2 separate regions of the Homo sapiens genome follow, and region 1 is linked to region 2. Evidence: promoter capture Hi-C in 16 types of primary human blood cells and fetal thymus (Javierre and others, 2016). All regions are on one chromosome and are shown on one strand. The core of a region is centred on a gene start or on the middle of the fragment in contact, and the rest is flanking DNA. Distances in the headings are between cores, read along the strand shown. Region 1 overlaps LOC124909439. Region 2 holds the start of MRAS (muscle RAS oncogene homolog).

Evidence for each region. Contacts are between HindIII fragments. The CHiCAGO score rates a contact against its expected background, and 5 or more counts as called.
Region 1: a fragment that was not itself captured here is called in contact with the fragment with the promoter of MRAS in region 2 in 1 of 17 cell types (naive CD8 T cells); the score reaches 5.3 in naive CD8 T cells.

Annotation. Positions count from the first base shown.
Region 1 is chr3:139,318,694-139,322,677 of GRCh38, reverse strand. All of the region lies in intron 1 of LOC124909439, which reads left to right. Among named protein-coding and RNA genes, the nearest start is that of MRPS22, 23 kb to the left of the region's middle. The HindIII fragment of the contact is 2,515 bases long and covers 1,263-3,777 here.
Region 2 is chr3:138,346,718-138,350,527 of GRCh38, reverse strand. MRAS (muscle RAS oncogene homolog) reads right to left here and starts at 1,949. Exons shown (of 6, transcript NM_001085049.3): 1 at 1,761-1,949. RefSeq lists an enhancer at 1,482-2,437. The HindIII fragment of the contact is 4,446 bases long and covers 380-3,810 here.

The sequences.
Region 1 (3,984 bases), core at 1,271-3,770, 970 kb before region 2:
CCTTGGCCCTGACTGATTTAAAAATTATTAGCTCCTTTGGGGAAACAAGGGAAGGAATTTGGGTCCAGACCTGGGCCAAGGCTTTGAAAGAGGAGCATGCTTCCTGGGGCACAGGCACTGGTGTGAGAGCCTGCATATCAACAGGAAACGAAGGGCCCCTCGGCTCTGCTTCCACCACCTCCACAGGCACCCTGATACTCTTGCCAGGGTCTCAGCTCTGTTTTGTTTCACAAAAAAAAGACCATGTGCCATATCAGTCAGGTGCCGAGCAGGCAAGAGATGGCACATTCGATTTAGGATCACTTGAAGGGAATTTAATAACTATTCAAATAGCATGACCTCGGACCTCATGAGTGAGATCTAGGGACACCTCAGGGACAGTACAGATTCTGAAAGGGTGGGAGGATGAAAGGTTTACCAGAACCTGGAAGGGGAGCATGGTCCAGGCAGGGGTGCCTGGAGGGAGCTGTGACCTTCAGTCCAGGGACATGAGCAGCCTGCCACAACCCTGCAGGATCTGCTAGAGGAATAAATAACTCCCACCCATTTATCCCCTGCCCTTAGATCTCCTGCTGGTACCTTGCATTGGTCTAATCTAACAAGAACACAGTGGACAAGAGAGTCTTTATGCAGTCCATTCTGGTCAAACTTCTGGACACAGAACAGGATGGCAGGAGAGTGGGTGTACACAGAAAATGCTCAGCACAGGGGTGTTTGAAGGGGGTTTCCTTCAAAGGAGGCTCCATTTGGAGGCTCTCTGTGGTGATGGGTCCCTTCCTTGTATGTCAGTCTTATGAAGACTGTTTCATGTCTAAGTGACATTTTAAAAATCAACTTTATTGAGGTGCAACTGACACATAATAAAACGCATCCATGTTAGATGTACCCTTTGGTAAGCCTTGGGGAATGTATACAGCTGTTGTACAGAACACTCCCATCACTCTAGGTACCCTGCTCCCCTTCCCCATCAGTGCTCCACCCCAGCCTTGCCTCTGAGCAGCCACGGAGCTACTTCCTGTCATTATAGAACGGATTTGTCTTTTCTGGAGATTCATATAGATGGAATAACCCAGCATGTACTCTTCGATGTCTGATTTCTTTCACTCTGCATGATTTTGAGATTTATTGTGTATACAGGTTGTTTATTGATTTCACCAATGAGTTAGTATTCCATTGTGCCAATATGTCATGATTTATTTATTCCTTCACCTATTGATGGACGTGTGGGCTATTTTTAGGTTTTTGCTATTATGAATAAAGCTTCTATGACTATTTGCAAAGGAGACTTTATACAGACAAATGTTTTCATTTCTCTCAGGTAAATATCCAGGAAGGAGATTGCTGGGTCATATGATAAGCCTCTGTTTAACTAGATAAGAAACTGCCAATCAATTTTCTAAAATGGTCTTATTTTTTGCAACCCACCAGCAAAGTATGAGGGTACTAATTGCTCCACATCCTCATCAGCACAGAATCTTCTGTCTTTTTAATGTTAGCCATTCTAGTGGGAGAGGAGGTGGTGATATCTCATTGTAGTTTACTTTGAATTTCTCTATGACTAATGACATTCGGCATCTTTTCATGTGCCTGCTGCCCATTCTGATATCTTCTTTTGTGAAGTGTTTGTTCAAATCTTCTGCTTTTTTTAAGTTGTCTGTATACTTAACATTGAGTTAATTCCCTCCAGTTTATGGCCTGCCCTTTTGTTTCTTAACAGTGAAATTTGAAAACCAGACTTTTAAAAAATCTCTCATTAGGGTACTTCTTAAATGTGACTATTAGGCCATGTAAGAAGGGCCAGTTCTCCTCACCCTGCCTCACTCCAGGGTTGCCCAGGTTCTCCTTTATCGCACGAGTTCTCAAAGGAGAGAAGCTGGCTGGAAAAACCGCCTCTGCGTCAGCTGAGAGGAGCCCACAGAGGCACTCTGCTTCTTCCCTTGGCCTAAAGCAAACAGGAAGGCACAGCTCTGGGGGCTCACGATAGGGACCCTGTTGAAGCTGCTGAGTCTTCAGCCACTCGAACCAGGTCCTACCTCGGTGCCAGGCCTTGGGCCATGATGCCCTTCACAGGCATCTTCTGGCTGACTCCTCACTGCCACCTGTGAGGTGGAGTCACTGTTCCCCTTTGATGGATGAGGAATCGGAGGCACAGACTAGTATGTCTGTTGGGAGACAGAAAATGTCTTTTTGACAAAGCGAATTTCATATAAGGCACTGTTAACCAGGGCTTGCAGAACAGAAAGGCAAAGGGGAATGCTGAGACATCAGAGGTAGTAACAGCAGGAATATATGAAGCCCTCTTACAAGTCAATAATAAGGAAGTAATCTAATTGTTTAAAATAGGCAAATGATTTGAGCAGACACTTCAAAGAAAATACAGGGATGGCAAATAAGCACATGAAAAGATCCTCAGGGTCAGTAACAGCCCCTAGGGCTGAGGGAACAAGGGTGAGAGTGTGGGCTTATAAAGATGTGGACACTTGGGAGGGGGCTGCAAGGCTGAGGCCCAGATTTCTGAGGGGGTGTCTCTCAGAGGACCCCATGGGACAGGTCTGCGAATGGGGAGGAAACTGACAGCTGGAACCAGCGGCTGCTGCTGGGGTGCAGGGCCATTGCATTGCTGGGGTGTTGCCAACAGAACAGGAAACAGACACAAAGGAGCTGACCCCTTCTCCATCCACCAGTGTTGCAGGCTCCCTCTAGTGCCCCCTCTTGGCAGAGCCTAACAAGGAGTTCTGGCAAGGCATACTGGTGATTTGTGGGATCCCAGAACATCACAGAGGGACGCTGGTTTGAAGCTGAGAGACAATGGCTTAATAACGAGCACCACAAATAAAGTCATTTGCCCAGCGAGTATAGCTAGTAAGTGGCAGAGTTTTTAACCCAGGAGCATATGACTCTGAGGCCAGTGCCCAGGTGGGGGTTAGAAGGAAACACTGGACAGGTGCCAGCCCCAGAGGCCGGGCTGACAAGTTTGGTGTGTTGGGCACTGGAGCAGGGGCAGAGGGCTGGGCAGGCAGCATCATAGTGAATACCAGGGACCCACCACGGGTCCTAAGCATGGAGCCAGGGCTGCTGAGGAAGCCGAGCTGGAGCAGTTGTGACACTGGGGTATGTGGGGGACACCGTACATGCTGCTGAGCTGGATCCCCATCTCAGCCCAGATAGGCAGGAAGACAACCAGAGTAAACTGAGGTCCTGGCTCTGGGCTCTGCACCCATGGGTCCTGCGATGCCCCTGCCTGCCTGAGTCAGGAGCTCCAGCCAGGGACAAGAAGAGCAGAGCCCAAGGAGCTGGACATTCACACCTCTCTCCTCATCTCAGACACAGCACCCTCTTTTTTGGCCAAAACCTTCCCAGGACAAAGCCATTGAGGTCCCAGATGGAACATTCCAAGATTTATTTGCAGTTTTCTTCTGAAACTAGCTTCTCTACTGTGGTGACCATGAGCCAGCCACCATTCCACCTCTGTGAGTCCCTCTTTGAGTCGCTGATTCCTAGAGAATGAGACCACACCCCAGTCTCAAAAGGTGTTGGGATGAGCTCTTGCATTGAAGTGTGAGTTGCTTTTCCCTCGCCCCTGCCAAATCCTCCAGCCTTCCCCAGGCAGGTCCATCCTGGGTGGTCAGCAGCAGGAGACTCCCACCTGTGTGCCTTGTTCCTCCCCTTTCAGTCGTCCTCTGGATATGCAGCTGCTGAACGGCGATCCCGGGCCCACATCCACATGTGGAATTCCTCTGAGCCAGCCTTCCACTGGGGAGACCTGTACCCCAAGCTTTCAGGTCCCCTAATGACTATCTCTCCTCTCTATGATGGGGCTGCACCTGGTCTGATCTCTAAGCTGTGGTACACCCAGGGATTAGGGGCACTGGCTTTGTATCCAAACAGCTGTAGGTTAAAACCCTAACTTTGCTGTGGGCTAGTTGTGGGACATTGGGCAAAGTACTCAATCTTTCTGTGTTTTATTTTATTGTTTGTCAAACC
Region 2 (3,810 bases), core at 700-3,199:
TTAGGAAATGCCGAGGTCACATCTAGGGGGTCAGTTTCCACCAGAGCACGAGGCTTGCCCAACACCTCCCTCCCCAGAGGCTGGCAGACCTCAAAAACCCCAGAGCATGAAAGCCCCATGCCTCCCACCCCGGCAGAAAAAGGACAAACTACACCATAAACTACAGAGAGAAGCTAACTGGCTGCTGGGCAGTGTGAACAGACCTAAGGGTGAAAACCATTGCCCGAAACATTTTCAGCCCCACTCAGCAGGGACATGTGATTTACAGGAAATTAGGAGGTTTACAAAATGTTAGCAGCTCAAGTTTCTTCCCCGGGAAAAGAAGCAGGAGAAGCTCTAAGAACCGTATCCGAGAAAGTGCTTTGTTCACTGCTAAGCTTCTGACACGAGTCAGTTATTAATACCCACAGCTCACTGCCTCACACTTCAACCCACCAGTGAATGTCTATAGTGAATAATTATAAAACAATATATTACAAAACTCTAACACAGGCTGCACCAGAGCCTTCCGAAGCCCAGGACAGCCACGTGGCCAAAAGCATGGACTTCAGATATGATCTTGGGCAAGCTGTTGGCTCTTTTTCACCCCAGTTCCTCCATCCTTTACAATAAACAAAATCCTTCTGGAGGTGTCTTGTCAAGAGGTGTCTTGTCAAATGATGAGCAAATCCACTTCAAGTGCCTGGTCTTTGGAAGCCCTGTTGGTTGCTGTTATTACAGTGGAGTTTCAGAGCTCTTAAAGTCATATCTCCATCTTACTTCTGCTGCCAGACAAACCTCTGGAGGCCACGATTCCGAGCCTTGTCAGCCACCCTCTCTGGTCAGGTCCAGGACAGAGTGAGTCCTAGAGGAGCAAGGCCAGGGAGGTTCCACACCATCAGGGGCCATTGGGGAGTAGGGGCAATGGCAGAGCTCTATGATCAAGGCCCCAGTGGCCTTGATGGACTCTGTCCACCTCTCCAGACTCCACTTTGCCCCAGGCCAGAACAGACCTCAGCTCTAGCCAGAGTCTAACTGGGTGTCCAGTGTATACGCTGCGGCCAGCCAGACATTAACTCCTCTAGGCGGCCTTCTCTCACCTCCCACTCTGCAGTAGGGACCCCTAGGGGCTCCCACAACCCCTGGGCTTACCGAATCTCAGCACTTACCACACTGGCTTGTCACTTTGTGCTCTTGTCTTCCCCGCAGGGCAGGACTGGCACCGTGTCTGATGCCTCAGCCAGATCAGTTCAATGCATGAGCCCAGGCCCTAGTTGTGACCACAGCTCCAGCTCCCCAAACCTCCGGGGGCAGTGAAGGGTTGTTTATGAAGCAGGCTGCGTTTTATTATTCAGATGAATTTGTCAACTCCCTGGCGGATCCCTCCCCTCGTTAACGCCATCTTAAGGCGGGGGGGTAAAGAGTCCCCCACCCACCCACCCATCCCCCGCCGCCCCGTCCTGCCGCCCATCTATCCACCGGGTTCTCGCCCAGGCAGCCAAGGAACTGTAATTACCATGAAAGGGTCTCTCTGAGCGGCGCGCAGGCCCTCCCCACTGGGGTCTTGGTCGTGGCCGATTTCACGAACGCACACCGTTACGCGGGAGCCCGCGATGGGGGCAAAACGCCACGCACAGCCGGTCCCAGGGCGCACCCCGCAAGCGGAGAGCGCGGCCGAGCCCGGAGGGCGGCCACACCTCCCGCCCCGGAACAAAGCGACGGCCGGGGCGAGAGGCGGCGCGGCCGGGCCCCCTCCCCTCCAAGGCCGCCCGACCACTCACCGCGCGCTCCAGCCCCGGCTCGGCTACGGCACTCAGGCCGCCCCCTCCTAGCCTGCGCCGGTGAGGAGGCAGCGTCGCGCCCGCCGGGCCCCGCGGCCGCCGGACTGACGGCTCCCCGCCAGCCGGCCACTCCGGTCCGTCCCCGCCCCGGCGCCTCCTTAAAGCGACCGCGCCGCCAGCGTGCGCCCCGAGCGCCTAGCGCGCCGCGCATTCCTTATATTGCCACAGCGCCTGCTAAAAATAGAGCGCCGCTGCGGGCGCGCCAGTGGGGAGCCCGGGCCGGGTGCCTCGACCCTGTCGCCCCCGCGTGCACCCCGGCCCCCAGGACGCGCGCCTACGAAGTCCAGCCCACCCGCGCCGAGTCCCCTGGGCCCGGCAGGGCGCGCTAGAGCGCCAGGGGCTGGGGTCGGCGCCGCAGCCTCTCCCGCGGCCCAGCACTTACCCGGGTCAGATCCGTGGTGCCGGGGAGCTGGCTTTAAGGTGGACGCCGAGTGGGAATTCGACTCGGCCTCTTTAAGAGCCTCTGCGCTCCAACCTTTAAATCTCCGCTCCGGCCGGGCCAACTTCTGAGCCTAGGGACGCCTCCCCAGTCCTAGGCGAACCTCCGCCGCCACCTTAGCTGCATTCCCTTCGAATCCTGAGACGTCTTTCTTCCAGATCATGCCCCAGCGTCTCTCCCCGCAGGCCTTCTGGGTGCACCGTTCCAGGGCCCAAACTTCGTTGGGATGGATGCGACGGGGACAGGCGACACTCGCGCACCATTTCATTGTTTCAGTTCCGCTAACTCCTCTCCAGCGGCGTCATTTTCCCCCCGTTAAAAAAATAAAGATATAATTCAACACCATAAAATTCCACCTTTTGAAGTGTACAATTCAAGCCGGGCGCGGTGGCTCACGCCTGTAATCCTAACACTTTGGGAGGCCGAGGCGGGTGAATCGCCTGAGGTCAGGAGTTCAAGACCAGCCTAGGCAACATGGTGAAACCCCGTCTCTACTAAAAATACAAAAGTCAACCCGGCATGGCGGCACGTGCCTGTGATCTCATCTACTCGGGAGGCTGAGGCAGGAGAATCACGTGAACCCGGGAGGCAGAGGTTGTAGTGAGCCGAGATTGCGCTACTGCACTCTAGCCTGGGCAACAGAGTGAGACGCTGTCTCAAAAAAAAAAAAGTGTACGATTCAGTGGTGTTTAGCATATTCACAAAGTTTTGCAACCATCACCATGAGCTAATTCCAGAACATTTTCACCACTTCCCACTCCCCTCCCCTGCCCCTCACAAAAAGAACTACCCGTTAGCAGTCACTCCTCATTCACCCCTTTCCTCCGCCTCTGGGAACCACTAATCTACTTTCAATCTCTATGGATTTCCCTATTCAGGACATTTTCTATAAACGGAATCATACAACATGTGGCCTTTTGTGACTATGACTAGCTTCTTTCAGTAACCAATGTTTAATGATCTATTCATGTTGTAACATGTAGCAGTACTTCATTCCTTTTCATGACTGAGTAATATTTCACTGTATGTCTATACGTTTTGTTTATCCCTGCATCACTTGATGGATATTTAGTTTTCTGCTTTGGGGCTACTGTGAATAAAGCTGCTATGAATATTCATGTACAAGTCTTTGTATGAACATATGCTTTTCTTTCTCTTGGGTATATACCTAAGAGTGGAATTCCTGGATCATATGTTAACTCCATGTTTAACTTTTGGGGGAACTGCCAAACTGTTTTCCAAAGCAGCTGCACCATTTTACATTCCCACCAACAACATATGAGGGTTCCAATATCTCCACATCTTTGCAAACACTTGTAATTGTGTGTCTTTTTTTATTCTAGTCATCCTATTGGGGGCGAAATGGCATTTCATTGTGGTTTTGATTGTCAGCATCATTTCTGAGGACATTCTTTTTCTGGGTGGACCTCAATGACTTAGAACCAGCTTTACATGTCCAGGGAACCCACTCCCTTCTCAGGTTTGCCCCAGGCCTAAGGGAGCCTCACAGTGCTGCTGGCTCTGCCTGCCATGCTGAGGCTCTTAATCCCA